Regions from separate parts of the Homo sapiens genome. Here all the other regions are linked to region 4. The links are contacts of gene promoters, found by promoter capture Hi-C in blood cells and fetal thymus (Javierre and others, 2016). All regions are on one chromosome and are shown on one strand. The core of a region is centred on a gene start or on the middle of the fragment in contact, and the rest is flanking DNA. Distances in the headings are between cores, read along the strand shown.

Evidence for each region. Contacts are between HindIII fragments. The CHiCAGO score rates a contact against its expected background, and 5 or more counts as called.
Region 1: a fragment that was not itself captured here is called in contact with the fragment with the promoter of PSMD3 in region 4 in 3 of 17 cell types (naive B cells, total B cells and naive CD4 T cells); the score reaches 8.6 in naive B cells.
Region 2: a contact is called between a fragment that was not itself captured here and the fragment with the promoter of PSMD3 in region 4, in 1 of 17 cell types (neutrophils). The highest score is 5.2, in neutrophils.
Region 3: a fragment that was not itself captured here is called in contact with the fragment with the promoter of PSMD3 in region 4 in 2 of 17 cell types (activated CD4 T cells and naive B cells); the score reaches 5.8 in activated CD4 T cells.
Region 5: a contact is called between a fragment that was not itself captured here and the fragment with the promoter of PSMD3 in region 4, in 1 of 17 cell types (naive B cells). The highest score is 5.3, in naive B cells.

Annotation. Positions count from the first base shown.
Region 1 is chr17:39,537,105-39,539,804 of GRCh38, reverse strand. It overlaps a transcript of CDK12 not described here. Among named protein-coding and RNA genes, the nearest start is that of NEUROD2, 69 kb to the left of the region's middle. The HindIII fragment of the contact is 2,290 bases long and covers 174-2,463 here.
Region 2 is chr17:40,408,000-40,410,699 of GRCh38, reverse strand. TOP2A (DNA topoisomerase II alpha) reads left to right here. Exons shown (of 35, transcript NM_001067.4): 11 at 2,070-2,208; 12 at 2,576-2,700. Among named protein-coding and RNA genes, the nearest start is that of TOP2A, 8.5 kb to the left of the region's middle. The HindIII fragment of the contact is 2,913 bases long and covers 1-2,700 here.
Region 3 is chr17:39,674,606-39,677,305 of GRCh38, reverse strand. PGAP3 (post-GPI attachment to proteins phospholipase 3) reads left to right here. Exons shown (of 8, transcript NM_033419.5): 4 at 2,627-2,689. Among named protein-coding and RNA genes, the nearest start is that of PNMT, 7.5 kb to the right of the region's middle. RefSeq lists a silencer at 755-814 and enhancers at 973-1,518, 1,519-2,064, 1-2,435, 2,065-2,612. The HindIII fragment of the contact is 233 bases long and covers 1,140-1,372 here.
Region 4 is chr17:39,979,407-39,982,106 of GRCh38, reverse strand. PSMD3 (proteasome 26S subunit, non-ATPase 3) reads right to left here and starts at 1,300. Exons shown (of 12, transcript NM_002809.4): 1 at 917-1,300. The coding sequence starts at 1,136. RefSeq lists a silencer at 960-1,009 and enhancers at 412-1,389, 1,190-1,469, 1,690-1,869, 2,291-2,700. The HindIII fragment of the contact is 5,666 bases long and covers 1-2,700 here.
Region 5 is chr17:39,574,232-39,576,931 of GRCh38, reverse strand. No RefSeq gene overlaps it. Among named protein-coding and RNA genes, the nearest start is that of NEUROD2, 32 kb to the left of the region's middle. RefSeq lists an enhancer at 1,802-2,376. The HindIII fragment of the contact is 2,619 bases long and covers 15-2,633 here.

The sequences.
Region 1 (2,700 bases), core at 69-2,568, 440 kb after region 4:
TTTATTTTCAAATAATTGTTTCTGAATAAGTCCACTTTCTCCGATTATTTCTTTCCTTTGGTTTCCTCTTATTATAATAGTTTTATATTACAACCTGCATTGATATGTTGACTTACAGATTCCCCACTCTCCACCAGCTGTAAGACTGACCTCTCTCACAAGACCCAGAAGCTTCCTGAAGGTGGGACCCTCCCCCAGTCTTCTTCCTCAGAGGTTGTCCTGTCTGTACACAGGACATGCCTCTGCTAATGATATTAATGCTCCCCACTGAAGCAGCCCTCATGGTATAACTATTGGGATATTATATCAAACAACCATGAGGAACACAATCTTATTCTGTCAATTTTCAAATTGCCACCTGCCTTGAACTTGGCACTGAATCTCCCCAAGATTACAAATTCAGTTTCATGACTTCAAAGTGTTACAAAACAAAACAAAAAAACAAGTACAGTCACCAAAGGAATTTATCTCCTTCATTCATGGTAGATAAATACTATTCTCTTTGAAGACATTTTAGGATGAGAAGCTCCATTTTGTTTCCTATTTGTACAATTAATCCCACATTCTCAGGTCATGACTTGATTTTCCAAAATGAAAATCAATTCCAGAGCCAAGAGTAATCTTGGTCCCTATCAGTCCTAACTCTTATCAACATGTTTTGGAAGGTCTCTAGGAATGGAGAAGTTATTTATGAGTCGCTTTCAACAGTTTGGCAAATACTTCCTTAGATTAACCTCACTCTCAAATGCTGACTCTTTACTTCCTCTAGTTTAGCCCTGTGTGGTTAGAGAGAAAAACGTGGTCTACCACTCCCTTTTATCTCCTACATATTGCTCAGGATACTAGCCTTATGTATGTATGTATGTATGTATGTATGTATGTATGTATGTATGTATGTATTTATTTGAGATGGAGTCTCATTCTGTCGCCTAGGCTGGAGTGAAGTGGCGCAATCTTCACTCACTGCAACCTCCACCTCCTGGGTTCAAGCAAATTCTCCTGCCTCAGCCTCCCGGGAAGCTGGGACTACAGGCTTGTGCCACCACGCCTGGCTAATTTTTTGTATTTTTAGTAGAGATGGGGTTTCACCGTGTAAGCCAGAATGGTCTCGATCTCCTGACCTCGTGATCCACCCACCTTGGCCTCCCAAAGTGCTGGGATTACAGGCGTGAGCCACCGCTCCCAGGTAGCCGGGGTTTGCCATTTATTCATTCTATCCCTTAGCCTCAAGGTGCTAATCAATCAAGATAAAAACAAAGCACTTAGGCAGCGCCTGACACATAGCAGGTACCCAACAATGTTAGTTCCCTTTCTCTCCCTTCTTTCTCGCAACACCATACATGTTCCTCGGCCTTTCTGGGCATTTTTTACTGGTTAAAGATGGTACTGAACCAAACAAACTAATCTTCTTTTGTAGCTCTAACATTCTGTGACTCTAATTCGCATATTCTCGTTTGTTCTTCTATGCACTGCCATCATTTGGATCTAAAATGAGTGGCAGAGGAATACTACTAGTCTCTAGGTTGACTTAGCATACCTAAAACCACTTGCAGGAGTTTTGAAATTCAAACAATACAAATAACTGTTTAATGTGATGCATCCATGTCATTCCTCCTTATTCTTGAATTACTCTCTTGAACTATGTAGATAACAGTGTTAAGTAAATGTCCTTACATATTGCTTAACATATTTGCCCATCTTTTCTAGTTTCCCTACAGAAAATGTCTTCATAGTATCCTAGGGGTTCTTGGCCCATCCTCCAACCCTAAAGGTAAGACTACTGTAATTAAGGGGAATTCTTTACTCAGTATTGGTGCTTTAATGGGGTCTTCCTGAAATGAACTGTGAATCTCTAAGAAAATTATCCTATAAATTTCACTAACTCAACCATAATTTTTCCTTCCATCCTGTATCCCTCTCTTCTTTATAAGCAATTATATCCAAGCTGGGCGCGGTGGCTCACTTTGGGAGGCCGAGCACTTTGGGAGGCCGAGGCGGGTGGATCACAAGGTCAGGAGTTCAAGACCAGCCTGGCCAGCATGGTGAAACCCTGTCACTACTAAAAATACAAAAAATTAGCTGGGCATGGTGGCACGCACCTGTAATCCCAGCTACTTGGGAGGCTGAGACAGGAGAATTGCTGGAACCTGGGAGGTGGAGGCTGCAGTGAGCCGAGATCACACCACTGCACTCCAAGAAGAGCAAGTCCATCTCAAAAATAAATAAATAAATAAATAAATAAATAAATAAATAAATAAAAATAAGGAATTATACCCCAAGTCTCTTTCTGCAGCCCAGCTACCAGACTCTTCTAGTTCTCCCTTCTTACCCTTATTTCCACCTCTTATATTGCTTCATTTTCTGAGACTTTTGGTCCCCTAACAGAAATTATAAATATTAACACTAGTATAAGGCCAAACTAAAAAGTTCCAGACTTTAAAAAAGGGACCAGGCTACTAAGCTTTCTTTAGGTCTTTGAATTCAGCCTGTTTTCTCCAGGTCCAAATGCATTCAAAATTGCATTAGCCTTGGTGAGGAGGGTCATCTACAAGCTGATCCTCACCAAGGGTGTCCCTCATTAGGCACTATTGTAGTTCTGAGACTGAGGAGGGAGAAGGATCCCCTCCTAGAGAGTCCATCAGATAGGCCCCTTAGGTAGAGAAAAGACATCCTCCAAGACTCAGACTTTGTTCTTTACTT
Region 2 (2,700 bases), core at 16-2,515, 430 kb before region 4:
GGTTGTATAAACAAGAAAGCTGGGAGCCTTCCTTTATTTCCCCTCCTCTCTAATCCGGTCAATAAGAATCATCTCTTGGATGCTGCAGTAGCTTCTCACCATTATCTCTTTTTTGGTTTACTACAATAGGTTCTTAACCTTCATACTGGTTAAGTCCTTTCCTTGGAATGCTTTTGAGTGACTTTTGTGTTAAAACACCCATTTTTATCTTCACTCTCATTTGAAATCTTTCAATGACTTCCACTCAGGGAAAGTCCAAATTCCATAATTTGGCCAACAAGAAAGATCTGCTGTAATCTAATTACACCTACTTCTCCAACTCATCTCAGTGCCAGTTTTTCGTATATTGTCCTGTTGCTTTTAAATTACTGAAAAGCACAGTGCTCTTCCCCTCCTCAGAGTTTATTCACATGCTAATCCCTCTGCATGAAATACATCCTTTTCACCTGGCTACTTTAGGTCTTGTCCTTTCCTCAGGAAAGCCTTTACTTTCTACCCTTCCCCCCACCTAAGTTGGTTCCAATATAATATTGAACATACCTTATTAGCAAACTTTTTGCTTATCCATAACACTTATAACACTGTAACTTATTTTATTTCTGTCTTTTTTTTTAGGCAGAGTCTCGCTCTGTCGCCCAGGCTGGAATGCAGTGGCACGATCTCGGCTCACTGCAACCTCCGCCTCCTAGGTTTCAGTGATTCTCTTGCCTCAGCCTCCCGAGTAGCTGAGATTACAGGCATGCATCACCATGCCTGGCTAATTTTTTTGTTGTTGTATTTTCAGTAGAGACAGGGTTTCACCATGTTGGTCAGGCTGGTCTCAAACTCCTGACCTCAAATGATCCACCCATCTCGGCCTTCCAAAGTGTTGGGATTACAGCCATGAGCCACTGTGCCCAGTCTTTTTTTTTTTTTTTTTTGAGACAGAGTCTTGCTGTGTTGCCCAGGCTACAGTGCAGTGACGTAATCCTGGCTCATTGCAATCTCTGCCTCCCAGGTTCAAGCGATTCTCCTTGCCTCCTGAGTAGCTGGGATTCTCCAGCCTCCTGAGTAGCGGGGATTACAGACATGCACCATCACATCCAGCTAATTTTTGTATTTTTAATAGAGATGGGGTTTTACCATGTTGGCCAGGCTGGTCTTGAACTCCTGGCCTCACTTGATCCACCATCCTCGGCCTCCTAAAGTGCTGTGATTACAGGCGTAAGCCACTGCACCCAGCTATGTCTGTCTTCTATGTTGTGTCTTAAACTTGATGAGGACAAGTGTCTCAATTTGTTTTATTTGTGTCTAATTTTATTTATTTATTTTTAATTTTTTTTTTTGGAGACAGCTTCTCACTGTTTCCCAGGCTGGAGTGCCGTGGCTTGATCTCAGTTCACTGCAACCCGCGCCTCCCAGGTTAAAGCAATTCTCCTGCCTCAGCCTCCCAAGCAGCTAGGATTACAGCCATTTCACCACCACCATGCCTGGCTACCCTTTTTTTTTTTTTTTTTTTTTTTTTTGAGACGGAGTTTCACTTTTGTCACCCAGGCTGGAGTGCAATGGTGCGATCTTGGCTCGCTGCAACCTCTACCTCCTGGGTTCAAGCGATTCTCCTGCCTCAGCCTCCCGAGTAGCTGGAATTACAGGTGCCCACCACCACGCCAGCTAATTTTTGTATTTTTAGTAGAGCCGGGGTTTCGCCATGTTGGCCAGGCCGGTCTCAAACTCCTGACCTCAGGTGTTCTGCCCACCTTGGCCTCCTAAAGTGCTGGGATTATAGGCGTGAGCCACCGTGCCTGGTCTAATTTGTTTTAACCACTATATCTCCAACAAGTAGCTCAGTGCTAGCACAATATAATTATATAGTAAATATTTATTGAACGAATGAACCAAAAGGAGCAGCTCCCTCAGTGGTGATAACCTGACATGGGAAGATGTGCCACCCTCTATCCAGAAATTATTGTTCTACATCTTTTTAATTTTTGAATCATTTTTATTTGTATTAAGGCTCATTTGTATTCTAGATTTCTGATAGATCCCTTCTTCCCTAATATGATCCCTAATATGAATCTTCTCGTTTTCAGGCCATTGGCTGTGGTATTGTAGAAAGCATACTAAACTGGGTGAAGTTTAAGGCCCAAGTCCAGTTAAACAAGAAGTGTTCAGCTGTAAAACATAATAGAATCAAGGGAATTCCCAAACTCGATGATGCCAATGATGCAGGTATATATTTAATAATGTTTCCAAACTTTTAAGTCTTATAGTTGTTATTTTATTCATTAATGGCATACCACGGATATTTATTTTTCCCTTGACAGAATAACTATATTCAACAGAATAACTTGTTAAAAATCGGCCCGTTTCCTATTATGGAAGATTTAGGTCATTTCCATGTTATAAATAATATTGAGGTGATTATTTTGGAGTATAAAACAAGAATGTTTATATTATGATCTATTACCTAACAAATAATTTTGCTCATTATATAGTAAATTGTGTTTTATCACAAGGCTATAAACAGCATGTTCAAGTTAGTATATTTGAGGTTGAACTAAATGTGCTAATATTAATATGTATATTTTTATTTTAGGGGGCCGAAACTCCACTGAGTGTACGCTTATCCTGACTGAGGGAGATTCAGCCAAAACTTTGGCTGTTTCAGGCCTTGGTGTGGTTGGGAGAGACAAATATGGGGTTTTCCCTCTTAGAGGAAAA
Region 3 (2,700 bases), core at 7-2,506, 300 kb after region 4:
TGAGAGTCAGTCTACTGGACCTGATGAAGGAAACTGACATTGATGGGCACCTACTATGGACCAGGCAGCAAAACCAGCAGCCATTCAGAGGAGTTCCTTGGTGCCAGGCATTCCGCAGACCTCGTCCTCATGGCCTCCTGTGCAGTGAGCATCATTATGAACCTGTTTTGTAGGTGAGGCAGTGGAGGCTCACACATACTGGGTTATGTGTCCAAGGTCACACAGCTGCGTAGGGGCTGAGGCAGGACTTGAATGCAGACTCTGTCTCATTGTGAAGACTGGACACTCTTCCCCCAGCCTGGAGCTGTGGAGGTGGGCCTAGGCAGCTAGGAGACCACCCCTTATCTGCCTAAACATCCTTGGCCTGCAGGGAGAGTGGGAGGCAGACATCCTCTTAGGCCTCAGTTCTATGGGAAGCTGACGGGGTTCTGTGCTGGTCAGGCAAGTGGAGAGAACACTCATGTTTCAGCCTGTCCTGGGCTCTGTGCTGTACGCTGTATTTGTATTGCTCATTAAACCCTTATCAACTATGATTATTCCCATTTTGCAGATGAGAAAACTGAGGCACAGCAAGGCTAAATAACTTGCCCAAGGACACACAGGAAATGCAGAGCCAGGAACTGAACCCTGGCAGTCTGGCTGTAGGGCTTGCATTCTTAATGATACCACTACCTCCCAAATCTGAGGAAAGGGTGAGAAGAGGAGCACCCCCAGAGTGGGATGCTCCCCAGGGGGGAGGGGCTTTTCAGGGGTGCAGAGGCCAGGCTTCAGGTGGGTCTCTGTGAGTGGAAGGCACCCAGGGAGGCGGTTGGAGAGGGGACCCAGCAGCCCCACCCATCCTGTGGCCCTACGCATATGTTTGCCCGCACACACACCCCCTGCTTTCGGTGTTCTGAGCCACTTAGCTCAGTCCTGCAGTCCTCTTCTCACCTCCCCCTTCCTGCTGTGGGTGACAAGGAGGCCTGGCTGGCTGCCAGTCCCTGCCGCCTTCCTCTTCTCCTTCCCACATTGGCTCCAGGGCCACTCTCCTCCCTAAGGATGTCCCTGTTCCTGGCCTGCCAGGGAGAACTGGTCCATGTGATTGCCTGGGTCCCGTCTCCAGCCCAAGCCTGCTCCTCTCCCCATGCTGACTCTAAGCTTTTCAGACTGTGGGAGCAGTGTCTGAGAAGCCACCAGGTTCAGTCCTGTTGTGCAGCCTCCATGCCTGTCTCTGGGGAGGGGGCTGCAGCAGGGCAGAGCCTTGAGTCTGGTGGAAGGGACAGAGTGGCCATCCTCAAAGGAGGAAGCAGCCTGCCCTAGACCACACCACCTAACGCCAGGCTGGAAAGGAACTGAAGTTTCACTTGAGCCATGATTTGTCCCGGGGGAAGCTTGGGCTGAGAAGGGCAGGGCCCTTTGACCAGGTCAAGAGGAGCAGAAGCAGCAAGGCTCAGCCCAGAGCCCAGGCCAGACAGGGGCACTAGGCAGCCTTGCGCCTTCCAGAGCTTGGCACCCCGAGAACCTGACTGGCTGTGCAGCAGTTCTGCCCCGCCTGTACCCCTTCTCCTCCCATTCTCTCCTGAGCTCCCCAGACCTGCATTTGGAATGCATCTTACTGTCTGACCTGCCTGCTACAGTGCCAGACAGAGTGTAGCTTCTTGCCCCCTCCCTCTGTCCCCTGCCTGGCCAGTTTTCCTGGTACATTGGAGCCAACTGAGCAGTTCCTGGCCTTTCCTCATCTCCGCCAGGCCTGTCCCACCCTAGCGCATCCCTCCCCACCTCCAGGCCATTCCCGGCCTGGCCTGCTGTTCCTTTGGTTGTCACGATTTCCCAGCCCTTCCCTTCAGCCCACCCTGCTTTCAGCAGTTTGGGCCTTTGCTGTGGACACAGCAGTCCCTGAAGAAAGTGCCAGCACCAACGCCCACAAGCTCTTAGGCTCATTCGCTAGATAACTTTTGTGCTCTCTCCACGCAGCTAATTTCCAGGAAGAAGGCCTCAAACATTCCCCTGGGCCCTGGCCCACCACAGCCCCTCCAGTCCTGCCCTCTACTCCTCCCAGGCTCGGGAGCAGCCACTGGTCTGGCGGGTTGGGCAGGCCCAGCCAGGAGGAAGCTGGGCTTGGTTCACCCTCCTCCTGGGAGCCTGTGCCCCAGTGGGATCTGCTTGATCTCCCTCCCCTGCTGCTTGGAACACACCCCAAGCTGGCTCGAGCCCCTCCACCCCACCCACCTCATTCCCGCCCCCAGAGGCTGAGGTCACTGGCTCCCCTGGGCCCGGGTGGGGTGGTGCTGTCAACACCTGCCGGTTGGAGGAGGAGGCAAGGCCCCTGGGGGCTGTTGTCTTAGCAATTGAGTAACTAGGGAGCTTGGCTATACCGGAACTGGTTCCCAGGCCAGGCCGGAACCTGTGGAGGCTGCAGCCCCCCGTGGCCTTGGGGGTTTGGGGTGGCAGGAAGTCCACCCCAGGGACCCTGGCTGGGTGGGGGTAGAGGGACATAGGTTTGTTCAGAGGGCTCCAGGGGCAGGAAAAGCACATTTCTTGTCCTGCAGAGCCCCTTCCCAAAGGTGAAATGGATGTGAGCAAATGGGGGTCCCTGCCTTGAGGTCAGGGTGGGGGGCAGCATGCTCACCAGCCCCTCCCTCCTTAGGTGTCCCTCAATGCATGGTTCTGGTCCACAGTTTTCCACACCAGGGACACTGACCTCACAGAGGTGAGCATTCC
Region 4 (2,700 bases), core at 51-2,550:
TTTGAGCTAGTTTCTCACGCATTTTAGTGAAAAGAAAACCTAGTAAGTAGTCTGGTCCCACTTGATCCAGAACCAGGAAAATGGCACCAGGATCACAGTGGGAAGCTCTCACTTTGCCCACTTCAAATGGAAACAGGACGCTGTAAGTGGGAAAAGTAAAACATGAACTTGGAGGAACAAGAGGACTACAGACACTCGAAACAGGAACCTCGGAGAAAAGAAATAGGAGACACCGGTATATAGGAGTTTAGGCCAAAGGTTGAGTATTACAAAACCAAACAAAGATGACACCCGAAAAGTTTTAAGTGTGTATGTACTTAAACCCTTTAGAAACAGAGGGGCAGTAAGGACCTGAAGGGAGGAGACAGCAAGGGGACTGTTGGGACACTTCAGTTAGAGAAGTAGGAAACAAGATACTAGGTCGAAATGGTTCATTCGGGGGAGTGTGCTAAAGGCAGCTAGGACAACAAAAATCTGCTGTACAGTTTTAAAACTCAGGAGTCAATATTCTAGGTCATCCTGGCCCTGTTTACACACAGACACAAACACTGGTTTCCAGCGGGAACAATCAGTCATATATTGGAGGCGCTAAAATCAGTCGGGTGGGATATAAACGGAATAGGTCAGAGGGGAGGACTTAAAAGAGGGAGTCCCCAGGCCCACTGGGACCTAGATATAGATGCAACCCCAGATATGGGGATGGAGGGGATGGGAGGGGAGTGGTTCCCAGCCTGGAGAGAAGGTTCAGTCATTGGGCCTGGAGTCGGGAGTGTCGGGGCAGTGGGAGCAGGTATCTGGGGGTGATCCCAAAGAACTGAGGGTGGTGGAGGCTGCTGTGGCTTCCCAGCAAGAAGCCAAATCACAGGGGTCGCTGTCACCCGCGATCGCGGCACGTTCCCGGCCTGGGCTGCCGTACCCTCCAAGGTGACTGTGTCCAGCTCTCGCTGGGAGTGCTCAGCCGCTGCCGCCGCCGTCTTGCCGTCTGCCTCCCCCGTCGACCCGCCACCCGTCGCTGCCTCCTCTTTCATCTCCACATCCTGGGGGGCCGGCGGCGGTGGGGGTTCTTGTTCTCCTCCGCCGGGCGGCGGTTTCGCCTTGTCCGCGCCGCGGCGCCGCGCCGAGCCCTCCTGCTTCATGGCACCCGGGGTCACGGCCTAGTCCGGGGACCGAGGCCGGGGCCTCGCGTTAACCCTCGCACCGGGGACCAGGAGCCGAGCCGGGCCTGCACACGAGCGCGAGATAGCGTCGGGCCGCACGATGACGGAGCAGCTGCAAACCCCTTCCCGGCGCTGGGCCTTCTGGGAAACGCCAGGCCCGGCAGGCCGATGGCCGAGTCAACAAAGGGGAAATAAATCCACAGCCGAGGTGCAGGATGAAGGAGGAGCTTCGAGGAAGGAGCGGGGAGGAGCCTTTATGGGTTCGTGGGGCTTTCTTTCGAGCGCTTAAGTGTGATGCTTTTATGTTCCTCTCGAGTGCATTTCTGTGGGCGTCCACGAGAGGTCCCCTCAGGCTCCAATCTGGGTTACAAAGGACTTTAAGAGCGCCTCAACCAGCGTGGAGTGGGTACAGCCTATCCGAGCGCGGGACGAGATGACGTCACGAGTTGCCGGGCGGGTTTTGCGCCCAAGTTCGCTCAATTTTCCCCGGTCGCGGCGGGGTCTCCTTCCAGATCCGCTGGGCTTGTGCTCAACGGCTGCCGGGCGCATCCGGCAGGAGGGAAGGAAAGAAGGCTGTGAAGGAGGGACGTGAAGCTAGGGCTGTTGGCCTTAAAATAAACCGAACTGGAGAGTAGGAAGAACCCTATGGGATCCGGACTTCCTTGGTTAGATTTGAGTTTAGTGCTGAACATAAGGCATACAATTTCTGCAGGCTGGGAGTGCCGATAGGTAGGAGCGTGCATTTGCGTAGAATCACTCCAGTTTAACAAAATATAGGGGTCCACCCTATGTACGGCCCACGGTTAGCAAATAGGGGGGTGAAAAACAGCTCAAGAATGTAGTATACGGGGGAGTCAGATGGTTAGATAAGCAGACACTGTGCTCTGGGCTGCGGTGGATTGGGAGTGTTGAGGAAAGAGGGTGGGAGCCCCTACTGGCAGACGCTTTAGGGAGCCCATTGAGAGGGCTTTTATACATCCAGACAGACATTGTGAAATGGGGAACAGAATAATGGTGTGCCTAAGGAGAGAATGATGGTTTACTTAGTGGTGTACCTAAGGGGAAGCAAATTGGACAAGAAACCCTACCCACTTATTTTTCAAAGGACTGCCCCACTGGTTCTGCAGGGAAGGTGAAACAAGGTGAAGGATATAGCTCCCAATTTCTTAGAACACACAACAAAAACTCTCTCCCTACCTTGAAACTTTTCTCTCTCCCATAAGTGGAAGTCCTGAGTTTTAGACCTTTCACGGACCCTACAAGACAATCTAGCCCTGTTGTAAGGACCTAGAAGGCAGGAAATATGTTTTGACCTCCTCCTTTGCATATATAAAGGGTATCCTGCATATCTTTTGCATCCTCTTTCATAGGATTGCAGGATGTTCCTTGCGTTAAACAGCCACTCGCTAACTGGAAAGATATGTGCTCTAGTTTTAGGGAACATGCCTTGACCAGTTCCTCCTCAACTGTCCTCTCACCCTCCAGGGCTGGGGGGTGGATAACAGGACTTTTGAATCATCATTGGAATAAACTCATTAGAACC
Region 5 (2,700 bases), core at 75-2,574, 410 kb after region 4:
AGGAATTATAAGCTTCTATTAGTTATCTGTCCTAAGTATAGGAAAGAATGGCCTAGAATGCCCCAACTATATTCCTGGACTTTGTGGAGGAGGCCCAATGTAGAGACCAGGAATGATGAAAAAATTTCATTTTACAGAGGAGGAACTTAGGACTCAGAAAGGGAGGTATAACAGGCCAGAGCCACGGGGTAAGTCAGGAAGCTCAGAACTGGGGCCTCTGACTCTCAGTCCAGTGCTCTTCTTCACCTGCATCATGAATCTGAAGGAACATTTTCAGCCACTTGTCCAGTCCCAGGAGAGCCTACAAGGGGCTGGAGTTTTGGGAGGCAGTGGGAGAGTTGCTCCAAGAGGCTTTTCCTGAGGAGAAAGGAACAGAGGGGCTGGGGAGGCTTCTTAACTCCCTCTCCTGCCTCAACACACACATTGACACACAACGGCAGAAATTTTATTTCCAAATGTCCCTTCTCTGGGGAGCTCGCTGTTTCCCAGGAGACGCCGGGTAGAGATGCCCCTTCCTGCCAGCCTCCCTGGCAGCCACTAGGCGGCTGTGGCTTCATCTTTTGCCTGGAGACGCCACAGTGAGGGTCCCACATGGTTTGTATTAATAGGAAGTGGAGCTGAGGGCTATAGGCGCTGAAGATAGGGCAGGCCAGCCAGGGATGGGTGGGCAGACAGGCCAGTGGGTAGACTAAGGCAGCCACACACAGGGCCACACTGAACAAAGGTCCTGGGCAGCTTTGCAAACCTAGATACATGAGCTAACCTGATTCTGGCTACTGGCAAACTGGAAGTATTTTTATTGTGTTTTCCCTTTGAATATAAAGATACTGGATGACTGGTGTAAAAATAGGGAATTCCAACAAAAGGGAATGAACAAAAGCCCCAGACTCAAATTTTAGGATGTCTTTTCCCGTAGGAAATGAATTAGCCTCTGACAGAAGTCTAGGGGAAGAGTCTGCTGTACTCAGGAAGGACAGGAGGAAGCATCATGACACTGTGGAATGCTCTAGAATCTGGGAGGTGTCCCTGCACCGACCCCTAGTATTGGAGAGCCTGCTGTGTGCATTGGTCTGTTGTCCCCAGATCAGTAGTTTCACAGTGGGGTTTTATTTCTTGAGATGGAGTCTCACTCTGTCACCCAGGCTGCAGTGTGCAGTGGCACGATCTCAGCTCTCTGCAACCTCTGCCTCCCGGGTTCAAGTGATTCTCGTGCCTCAGCCTCCTGAGTAGCTGGGATTACAGGTGCGCACCACCATGCCTGGCTACTTTTTGTATTTTTAGTAGAGACGAGGTTTCACCATGTTGGCCAGGCTGGTCTTCAACTCCTGACCTCAGGCGATCTGCCCACCTCGGCCTCCCAAAGTCCTGGGATTACAGGCATTAGCCACCGAGCCCGGCCTCAGTGGAGTTCTTTCCATCCTGTGTTTTTTCCATACTCCCAACCTGCTGGGTGCACCATGCTGCCCTGCTGTTGTCACCCAGTCAATGTGGGTTGCAAGAATAATGAATTTACAGAAGAGGAAACAGGCCCTGAGATAGACACTGAAGTTGCCAGAGAGGCTCAGATCACATTCACAAGCATGACAGGTATACATTAAACGGCCTCAAATTCTCCACCAGTTCCCTCTTTCCCAGGGCTGAGAGGGATCAAAGGTTGGAGTCTATGGAAGAAACTTCCCAGGTCTGGCCCTTGGACAGGACAGGGGCAAGGCACGAGAGGGAGACTGTCAGGGATTGTGGGAAGAGAGGACCCAAGGAGAGAAGGACAGTAGTAGAGAGCCTGGTGTAAACCTAGATATTGAATCCGTGCAATGCCAATGAGGTAAAGAGCAGTTTTGCCCCTCTACTGTGACAATGGGGCGGCTTTGGCTGGAAGGTTTGAGGTAATCTTCCAGTTAAGCAGGGATTTAAGCATATGGAGAAGACTCACCTCCCTCAAGGTATCCACCCAAAACAGCAGCAGGGATAGAGGTCAGCCCCTTATCTCCCTTTCTTCTTTTTGCCAGAGGACTTAAGGTCCTGCCATCTACACATTACATATTATCCCATTTAGTCATTGGCAACTGGCTTATCCCTATTGTATAGATGGATAAGCCATGGCTAAGAAAGGTAAAGCGACTTGCCCAGGCTACAAACCAAGTGGCGGAACTAAGTAGATGCTCCAATCTCAGTTCTGGCCCCAGATGCTCTTTTTTTTTTTTTTTTTTTTTTTTTTTTTTTTTTTTTTTTTTGAGACGGAGTTTTGCTCTTGTTGCCCAGGCTGGAATGCAATGGTGCAATCTTGGCTCATTGCAACCTCTGCCTCCCGGGTTCAAACGATTCTCCTGCCTCAGCCTCCAGAGTAGCTGGGATTACAGGCGCCCGCCACCACGCCCAGCTATTTTTTTTTTTTGTATTTTTAGTAGAGGCGGGGTTTCACCATGTTGGCCAGACTGGTCTCGAACTCCTGACCTCATGATCCGCCCGCCTCGGCCTCCCAAAGTGTTGGGATTACAGGCGGGAGCCACCGCACCCGGCCCAGATGCTCTTTTTAAGGTGTCAGTACTTGGTTTGGGCGTGGGGTGGGCACACCATGCTGGATTCTGGGGAAAAGGTCCTCTCCCTCACACAGACTCCTGGCCTTCCTTTAAGCTTAGATCCTTGCGGGGTGTCCTGTGTTGGTTGGGTCCAGACCCTGCCCCTGCTTCTACTGAGAACTGT